Regions from separate parts of the Homo sapiens genome. Here regions 1 and 2 are each linked to region 3. The links are contacts of gene promoters, found by promoter capture Hi-C in blood cells and fetal thymus (Javierre and others, 2016). All regions are on one chromosome and are shown on one strand. Each heading gives the region's core, a stretch centred on a gene start or on the middle of the fragment in contact. The rest is flanking DNA. Distances are from core to core; before and after follow the strand shown.

Evidence for each region. The method cuts DNA at HindIII sites, captures the fragments that hold promoters and counts their contacts. A CHiCAGO score of 5 or more calls a contact.
Region 1: a contact is called between a fragment that was not itself captured here and the fragment with the promoter of ARHGEF9 in region 3, in 4 of 17 cell types (naive B cells, fetal thymus, naive CD4 T cells and 1 more). The highest score is 7.2, in naive B cells.
Region 2: a contact is called between a fragment that was not itself captured here and the fragment with the promoter of ARHGEF9 in region 3, in 4 of 17 cell types (total B cells, total CD4 T cells, naive CD8 T cells and 1 more). The highest score is 9.4, in total B cells.

The regions. Positions count from the first base shown.
Region 1 is chrX:65,522,249-65,525,629 of GRCh38, reverse strand. LAS1L (LAS1 like ribosome biogenesis factor) reads left to right here. Exons shown (of 14, transcript NM_031206.7): 8 at 580-665; 9 at 1,016-1,066; 10 at 1,368-1,574; 11 at 1,923-2,070. Among named protein-coding and RNA genes, the nearest start is that of LAS1L, 11 kb to the left of the region's middle. The HindIII fragment of the contact is 4,278 bases long and covers 1-3,381 here.
Region 2 is chrX:65,501,944-65,505,154 of GRCh38, reverse strand. ZC3H12B (zinc finger CCCH-type containing 12B) reads right to left here. Exons shown (of 10, transcript NM_001010888.4): 10 at 1-3,211. The coding sequence ends at 1,946. Among named protein-coding and RNA genes, the nearest start is that of LAS1L, 31 kb to the left of the region's middle. RefSeq lists enhancers at 1,842-2,342, 2,343-2,843. The HindIII fragment of the contact is 944 bases long and covers 1,022-1,965 here.
Region 3 is chrX:63,783,422-63,786,567 of GRCh38, reverse strand. It overlaps ARHGEF9 (Cdc42 guanine nucleotide exchange factor 9), which reads left to right and starts at 1,354. Exons shown (of 10, transcript NM_001353921.2): 1 at 1,354-1,452. The coding sequence starts at 1,423. It overlaps MIR1468 (microRNA 1468), which reads left to right and starts at 481; the gene lies at 481-566. The HindIII fragment of the contact is 6,142 bases long and covers 1-3,146 here.

The DNA.
Region 1 (3,381 bases), core at 830-3,329, 1.7 Mb before region 3:
CCCCTATAGCCTACTCCTGCAACCCCTCTAACTTTGTTCTGGGTTTTTAGAACCCCTAGTAATAAGGCCTATGGACCATATTTGGTCTAGCAGTTGGGTCCCCAAGGTTTCTACTTCTAGGATCTAAAAGAAGGTAGCCAGGGAGAAGAGAAGGGGTAGGGTACTGAAGAATGGTCAAGATAAACAGACTGCAAGAACTGAGTCTAAAAGCCCTTGACCCCATGATCCCAGGCATTTATTTCCTTCTGTGGATGTGGAACTTTTTCCTGTCTGTGTGTTGAAGTGTATTCAGACACTACTGCTCTCGTTATGGGCCATAGATCAGCATTAGTGCTTGGTAAGCACTTGTTCAAAACCCACTGATCCCAGCCTCTAACCAGCCCCTGCCTGAGGAGGCTGAAGCCTAAGATCCAATTGTCAACTCCCTTCCTCCCCACTCCTACCCACCCACCACCCCTCCTCCCTATGCTGCTTCAGCCACTTGAGCCAGAGGCATTAGCTGCTTTGGAGGTGGGTGGAGGAGTAGGAGAGGGTCTTCTGCCAGCATCACTTTGCTAAACTAGTGTCCTCTTGTTCCAGGGAGGCTGTGCTGGATGCTTTTCTGGATGATGGCTTCCTTGTCCCCACATTTGAACAGTTGGCAGCTTTGCAGATAGAATATGAAGGTAGGGTTCTGGGGGCTCACTGCACCCTTAGGGTTCTGATTCCTGGGTGGAAACAGCTGGGGTGGGCTGGGGGGCCCTGGGTTGGGGTGTGAAGGCTGTTTCCTGCCATTCCATGGCCTCTGAAAGTCCCTCAGCCTTCCTGGCTGAGCAGAACAGGTAGCCCCACTGACAGTTGTGGGGCTGCCCTTAAGTGCTCTGGAATGGGGTGGGGTGGGATGGGGTGGGGTCGGGGAGTCTTAATGACATTATTGTGCCATGTTCGTTGTGATTTAGCTGCTAGCTAGAGAGCTAGAACAGCAGAATTGGAGGGGCCTTGTGAGGTCATCTAGTCCAACATCCTCATGTTACAGATGGTCAGACTGAGGTCCAGAGAGGGGAAGGTACTGACCCAAAGTCACACAGTGAGTTATTGACAAAGCTGAAGCTAGAACCAGATCTCTGTTTTGTTTATACTTTATTTTGAGTCAGTTGTTGGTTGCCAGATACTAACTGGTTTCTCTCTCCCCACTGTTCTGCTCTCCTCTTTCCTTTGTTCTGCGGTGGCAACTCTGTTGTTGGTGGGGGGCTTGGCTCATGCGCGCGCACACATTCTCTTGCTCTCACTCTCACTTCCTTTCTCTTGCTGTCTCTTGCTCTCTCTTTCGTGCTCTCCTGCTCTCTCTCTCCTATTGCCCCCCCAAATGGGTGTCCCTTACAAACCAGAAAACGTGGACTTGAATGACGTCCTGGTGCCAAAGCCGTTCTCTCAGTTCTGGCAGCCCCTGCTCAGGGGCCTGCACTCCCAGAACTTCACGCAGGCCCTATTGGAGAGGATGCTCTCTGAACTGCCAGCCTTGGGGATCAGCGGGATCCGGCCTACCTACATCCTCAGATGGACCGTTGAACTGATCGTGGCCAACACCAAGACTGGTGAGGGAGACTAGCCCTAGCCCTAGGGCCTAAGGCAGCCCAGGCAGGAGCCTCTGCCACTGTCCTCAGCTCTCTGCTAAGAAGCACCAGGCAAACACCTCCCGTGTTAAAGGTTTAGGTTTGCCCAAGAGGGCCCCACGGCAGCAGTGGACAAATCTCCCTTTTCCTTTTCTTCTCAGAGCCAACTAAACTGGGCTGGGGCAAAGTGCCCTGAATTCTTTGAGCAGTTGGGAGGTATAGGTGGGGAGTCTGGGGGGATGGGGAGGGACAGAGCCAAACTTTCTGAGGTGAAATGTTGGGTGGGGGGCTCACTGCTTCCTTCTCCTTAGATCCTCTCTTCTCTCTCAGGACGGAATGCTCGCCGATTTTCTGCAGGCCAGTGGGAAGCAAGAAGGGGCTGGAGGCTGTTCAACTGCTCCGCCTCCCTTGACTGGCCCCGGATGGTTGAGTCCTGCTTGGGCTCACCTTGCTGGGCCAGCCCCCAACTCCTTCGGATGTAAGTCTCTTGAATTCCATCCGGTAAGAGGGTGAGGCCCTTCAAGCCTCAGGGCCACACTGCCCTAGAATGACTGAGTTAGAAGGGCCCTTTGGGGACAGTCTAGCCCAGTCTCACTCCCACTGACAGATGGGACAACTGAGTCCAGAGAGGGGAGGGGTAGGGTTTTCTTACCTAAGATCATACAGCTTAAGACCTGACTGAACTGAGTCCAGTGTGGGAATGGATAAGACAATCCCCCTAGAGTGCTTAGCACAGTGGCCTGCACAGAGTAAGTGCACAATAAATGGTAGCTGCTGTTTATTATTGAACCCAGGTCTTCTGACTCCAAGCCCAGTGCTGTTTCCTCTATTATCTTTCCAAAGTATACCTCTGATAGTTGCTTAGCAACCTTCAGTTGCTCCCTATTGCCTTCCTGTTAAGTCTAGGCTTCTTAGCCTGACATTCAAAGATCTTTCTGATTCTGGCCCAACTTACCATGGTAGCCATACCTCCTGTGAGTCTCCTTTACCCTATCCACCCTGGGTTCTATGGTCAAACTGAATATTGCACTGGTAAATACCTGTGGTTGTCTCCCTTTCCTTTTCTCTGTCATTTCCTGACCCTGAGCCACTTCCCTCATAATCATGGAAGCCTTTAGCGCCTGATTCCCTTCTTGCTTTCTTGAGCAATATCTGTTTCATTTGGATGACTCATCTGACACTCTACAGCTCCTCAACTCCAGTGACTTTCATTCTCCACTACACTCAGCAACCCATTTCCATCATTCGGAGCTATTCCACCTCTGAAAGCTCACATCCCAGCATCCCACTCGGTGACCACCACTTCTCGTCCTTCTAGTTCTCACCCTTGCATCCCATGACATCTGCTCTTTGCCTGCATCCAGATCTCCATCCCTCCATTTCCTGCATCCCTTGACCTTGCTTCCTCTCTATCCTGTCTGTGGTTGCTCAGTTCGGCCACTCATCATCAGCACCTTCAGCTTTGCCCATCCTTTGGCCATATCTGACTTGCAAACCCCTGAGCTGGAATTGATCCTCCCCATTCTGCTTCCCCTGCTCCTCAGCCCGGGTAGCTGAGCTCTGCTGGAGAAAACCACATAGCCCTGCGGATTGCTGCCACTGCAGAGGTATGATTTTTAATCTCGGGCGAGGCCTCAGTTCTGCTTGTCTGAACTTTTACTTGTTTTCTGACCACTTTCTCTCCCATTTCCTCACTATTCTAAACCCTTACCGCTCACCTCAAGCCCCTCCCCCTCTCCCATTTCACCCTAGCTTCCTCGAGCACATGGAGGCATCCGGCAGGGCCCCC
Region 2 (3,211 bases), core at 244-2,743, 1.7 Mb before region 3:
TTCGAAATATTGAAATATACAATGGATTCAAAAAGGGAATTCATTTAGTGCAGCTTAAAAAAAACAATAAACACCTCTTCTAGAGGCATTTAGCTATGAAGTTTTCCACCCTGAGCAAGATACAAGTTGCGCAAATGGTGTCGCCCAAACCAAAAGTCCTGCCTTCTAATAACTCATTTAACAATTATTTAACAGCAAGTGCACTCTTTGCATGGATTTAAAGTGAGTAACTGAGCCAGCTATTAGTAAAGATGCAGTATCCCCTTTTGGAAACTTCCTTTTTCCACAAATAAAATCCCCTGGTTTTGTTTCCTAGAGAAATTCTGTTCCACCAATGATTGACCTTATTACCCAAAGGGTGGACAGGAAGAGAAAGTGGATACATGGCTGTGCACTGTCCTCCATTACATTTCATCCAATGATGTTGAATACTGCATAGGTCAGAAGTCCAAAGAGCATCCAATAGTCCCTCCTTGAGTGAAGCTTTTTTATTCACCATTTAATGCCACATGGGTTTGGCCATCTCTCCTGGGATAAGGGAAGTGGATTGTGGTAGTAAGTCCCCTGGTCCTTGTCAAACTCTTCTGAGCTTGTGTAGCACACACATACTATGCTTGGAACTTGAGCTTAACCATCAGTTTCTCTGCAGAAGACTGCAACCTGATCCCTAATTTGCTAAGGTGAAGAGACTTGGAAGGTAAGAACTGTTAATAAATGTTGGCAGGTAAAATGTGCAAAGGAAACAGAGTTGCTTTGCTCTGGTGCCTAAGAAAGCAATGTTCAAATATTGCCATATAATTTCTCTCTCATAACTAGTTAAAACTATGAAATGTGACTTAAAATCATCAAGTCAGATTAGTGACCTATACAGCTATAGACGAAGGACTGTGTAGAGCCTACCCTCTCATTATCACTATATAAAAGGTTATACAGAGATACACACACATCTCAAACCAAATATATATATTCATACATGCAATATAATTGCTAATAATAGCTTTAAAATATAGTTCTAGAAGCTTCAATGTGACCCTATAGTTTCATTAATATAGATTGAGTGATCAGATATCCATGCAATAAAGTATGCATTTACTTTTAAATAGCTTTAAATATTTCTATTAGAAAAAACCTAAAAGGTTAATTCAACATATGATCTGATCCTGATGCTTTTGCTCTCTAAATTGGATATATCATCCATACTTTGTAATATAGAATATGTGACTACGAAAACTCTGGTAGGCTGGGCGCAGTGGCTCACACCTGTAATCCCAGCACTTTAGGAGGCCAAGGTGGGCGGATCACTTGAGGCCAGGAGTTTGAGACCAGCCTGGCCAACACGGTGAAACCACGTCTCTACTAAAAATACAAAAATTAGCTGGGCATGGTGGTGCACGCCTGTAATCCCAGCTACCTGGGAGGCTGAGGCCATAGAATCACTTGAACCCTGGAGGTGGAGGTTGCAGTGAGCAGAGATAGTGCCACTGCACTCCAGCCTGTGTAACAGAGTGAGATTCTGTCTCAAAAAAAAAAAATAAAGAAAGAAAGAAAGAAACGAAAAGAGAAAAAGGAAAACTCTGGTAATGGAATCCTCTGGGATTTCTTACATCTAGACCTCTCCCCCTGGGTTTTGTCCTCCATTACCTGCATGGTGCAGTGCAAAGGGGCATGGGACTTGGATTTAGAGGACTTGGGTGTGTGTCTTGACTTAGTCATTTGCTAGCAGTGTGACCCTGGCTAGCCACTTAATTTCACTGACCTTCACCTTCCTTCTCTATAAAAGAGGATGTTAGTAAGACGTACCTCACAGGGTTGTTAAGCGCTTAAATGATATAAACACTCTAACTTGTAAAGCGCAACACAAATTATTAGTTACTATAATTATTGTATTAGTGTATTATTAGTATTAATATTCATATTTGTATAAAGAAATAAGTACTATGTCATATCAACGTGCAGCCCTAAGCTTAGCAACAATCAAGGCTGCCAGTTGCTGGGCATCTGCTGTGTGGGGATTCTTCTCCATCACTGCAAGGACGATGTTAGAAGGGAAAATATTGCAGAGGTTCTTGTAGGTCTGATACTGGTGTTCTGGGATCATATGCTCCCTGGAATCATTGCACATTCCAACCCAAGGATTCCTCCAAAGCTGCTCCATCTTTTCAGGCACGCTCCGTACCATGACTGGCTCATAACATGGTTGCATGAGGCTGTTACTCAAGGGATAGGAGTGGTAGCCATAGGAGTCAGTTGTACAGGGCAGCGGGTCCCAGCTGGCATGCTGTTCCCGGCACAGGGGAGGTCGTCTTTGCCTCACGGGGTTGCTCTCATAGAGGCGGGAGTCGGAAATGCTATCCATCCGAGTCATCACCAGGGCACGGCCTGGCTGGGGGGTTGCCCCAGGATGGATATTGGGAGGCATGGGGTAGTCTGCAGGACAGCTGGAACGTGTTCCAGTTGATGGGTGCTGGGCATGCAGAGCTAAGTGGGGGACTGACTGTTTGTGGGGGCCTTGCTTAGAATCCTCTGGGCCATAGCTCTGCACTCGTGTTAAGGCTTCATGGTAACCATGAGGAAAAGGCTGAAGTCGGTTCTGGGATGCTGAGCGGTGCAGCTTCAAATTGCCTTCAGGATGGGTATCAGCTACAGCCAAATACACGTTGTTGTAAGAGGAATAGTTGTCATTCCTGGTATGGCTCACACGGCTGTCAGAACAGAGGTTAGGATTCCGGGCATACACCCCCCGGTCTACTTCAGCCATGTAATACTCTCGGTTATGCATGCTGTTGATGTTCAGTTTGGAGAAGTCACCTAACATTGAATAGTAGCCATGGTCCCCCATGGATTCAAACTTTGGGTATTGCTCAGCATAGCTAATAGGGGTCCCATGGCTGTTGGTAACCAAGATGGGAGGATACTGCATGCTGGCCATATGCTCCAAAGAGGCCTTCTGGTGGGGGAAATGGGAGGATCCTGGCACTGGGCTGCTGGCCGAACGGGTGTTGAGTGCACCCACTGCATGGCTTTTGGGGGGTGGGATTGTGGGAACACTTAGGGCAGTCACAAGCGAGGGGACAGAACTAGCCTCAGGCTTACGGGCAATGGACAGCCATTCCTCAGGCTCCATAGCCACAGACCGGATGCTGGGATCTGATTGGCGCTTGGGGGCCACACGTTTGACCTCTGAGGTTATCTCACCTTTGGCACTAGACAT
Region 3 (3,146 bases), core at 105-2,604:
GGTACTGCTTCTATCTTTGCCCAGCTCTGCATGGACAAAACAACAGGTTGGATGAAGTGCAGAAGTTGTGCTAAAAAGAAGAGGACAAATAAAGTACGTGTAACAGGCCAGTGATGTCTTCATGTCAATTATCTCCAGGAACTTCTTTCTAATATCATACTGTAACTCCTTTTACTTTGGTTGCAACCTCTGTTTTTGCAATTCTGTCTTTGCCTGACCTGCTCTTCTAGTCAGGAGCCTTGGATTCTTGTCTTGTTTGGCTGTGCTACTTTAAGCAGAAGTCTTTCAATCTCTGGGCTTCAGTGTTCAAGTCTGTAATGGTGGGCAATTAAGAATCCTTGTTGTGTCCATCTCATAGAGTTACTGTGAGGATTATAAGGGATAATAACAGATGTTAGTGTGACTGACAAAGTCAATTTTTAGCCTAAGCAAAGGTACCAGCCTGTGTTGTGTTCCCCAGAGTTGGGGGAATCATAAAGAGGTGGGTGGTTTCTCCGTTTGCCTGTTTCGCTGATGTGCATTCAACTCATTCTCAGCAAAATAAGCAAATGGAAAATTCGTCCATCAACAAGCTACCTTTCATGTTCCTAAGGGCATGAAGGAGAAGCCTGGAGTGGTGTGTGTGAGATAGAAAGGGAGAGATAGCCGAAAGAGGCTTGGAAAGCCGCAGAGGGTAAAGTCGAGGATTTATCTTTTTTTTTTCTTTAATGTGACCTTATGCCCCTTCCCTCTTCCAAACCTCCATTTATTTATCTATAACTTGGAGATACTAATGGCTGCCTCTACAGGGTTGTTCTGAGAAGTGAAAGTAATGCAGATGAAAGCTCTCAGATAGTACACAAAGAGAGAAGACCCTAGGGGAGTATGCAGAGGGAGGGTGGGGGAGGGAGGCATGAGAGTGCTGGCTTGGCTCCACTGGGGCAGGATCTTATTATTCTGGAGATTGGCACAACACCTCTGGTAACTTTGGAAAGGACTTTCCGCTGACTCGACACAATTGGGAAGCCCCACAATAAACAGCATCTAACTCCAGCGCAGCGGGAGGCAGGCAGAGGTAGCAGCTGCCTTCTCCTGGGCGGGCGGAGGCTATTCGCCCCCATCCTCTCCCTGCACCCCACCCCCACAGTTCTCAAGCCTTGGTGGGGGACAAAAGCAGCCCATTAGGACCCCCCCACACTCGCACCTCTCCCTGCCAAGACCTCTAGGAGCAGCAGGGCGGAGAGACAGAGCCTGCCGGTTGGCATGGAACAAACTGACTGAAGGCGAGGTCCGGGGCGGAGGGGATTGGGTTGTAGGGCTGTGGAGGAGGGGCGGCGGAGGGGGCGCTGGGGCTCTCGCTTGCTTCAGCCCAGCCCTTCTAGTCAGCCCGCGACAACTCGCGCCAGCTACGGGGCCTCAGAGAAGCCGGACTTCGCAAGCACCATGCAGTGGATAAGGGGCGGATCGGGAATGGTGAGTGCATGTAACCTTGGCTTCCCTTGCTTGAGCCTCTCAGTCCCCCAGCCCCACCTCCAGTTCCTCCAACGAGCCACAAGGCAGTGAGCACCCTGGCCTCTGCCCACCGCCCTAGCCGCCGTCCTTGAGACACCAGTGAGCTTGCTGTGGCCATTTTAGGAGTCCCTGCTAGCCTGCCTGCCCAGGAAACCCCCCTACCATCCCCCTCCACTTTTCTATCTCCCTCTGAGATTAAGGTGGAATAGGGGTGGGGGCCAGATTATGTGCCCAGGAACATCCCAGGGGTCACTTGGGAGGCCAGAGAGGGAAGGGGGATGGCAGAGGGCTTCTCTGGAAGCAGTGAAGCTCGCAGGAGGCTGACAAGCTGGCACGGGGTTGTGGGGGGAGGGGACGGTCACAAAGCCTGGAATTGTGGAGGGGGCCTTATGGGAGAGCTGCATGACTCCCCCCTGCCCCCAACTAGATTTTCTGCAACTCCTTTCCCTGGTCAGCCCCAGAGCATGAGGGCCAGAGAGCCACTCTCTCTCTCTCAGGAAGCTGCCTGAGGGAGCCCTAAAGCCCTTCCTTGTCCGGGCTGGGGTCACCCTGTCCACACTTGGGGCTTTGTCAAGGAGAGACAGCTGCAGAAACCCACATTCTGGAAATGGGCTTGGGCCACAGTCAGTTAACAGAGCTCTTCTCTCCCTCCCAAGGAGTGTGTGCTTGTGTGTGTGTTTAGTATAATCCTCCAACAGTTCATTTTATGCCATGGTGTTCCCTTCTCCACCTGGAGACCTTGGAATGACTTCCTTTTGCAGAGAGGAAGTGGTGGCTGCATTTTGATGCCTCTCTGACTTAGCCAGGAGCAGCTTAAGCCTGGTTAGGGCCTCTGGGGAGTGGGAGGCCCCCATGACTTTGTCCTCAGCTGGGAGGCATAAGCAAAAGGGCCTTAGAAGGCAGTTAGGTTGGGTCAGCAGGCACTGATGGCAATAGCCCACACTTCTACGCTGCCACCCATAACCCGCAGATGAAGGAAAGTAGCCTGAAGTGGTTGGGCAAAAACTGATATTTAACTCCATTTTTGCTTTCATTGTGGAGGGGAAGAGGGAATCTGGTGTGGGCTAGGACTATATTCAGAGGGGCTGTCCTCTTCCCTTCCTCAGAGTTTTGTTAGATCTCTGTTTCAGTGGTTCTTAAGGGCATCCGGTTCATATGCCTATGTGCTGGGGCTTCAAAAGACCCTTCTTCCCAGACCTCCCTACTTCCCTGAGGTCCCATTAAAGCTGCATCAAATGTTTGTAGAACCAGAAAAGATTAGAGCAGGTAAAGACCTTAGAGTCCTTGCTGTCCAGCCAGGAAAGCTGGGATCCAGAGAGTGGGAGAGACTTGCCCAGGACCACAAACTCCTTGGAGGCAAAGCTGAGTCTAGCACTTGAGTCTCCTGACTGCCACAGTCCTTCCCCACTGCTCCACCAATCATTTGCTCAAATGGTGCTGAGAGGGGAAGAAAGGAACATAGTCATGATCTTGGGAAAGGACTTTCTTCAGGATGATCTAGTGCCATTAAATTTACCTGAAAGCCGGGCGCGGCCGCCCACGCCTGTAATCCCAGCACTTTGGGAGGCCGAGGCGGGTGGATCATCTGAGGTCGGGAGCTCAAGAACAGCCTGACCAACGTGGAGAAACCCCGTCTCTACTAAAAAGACAAAATT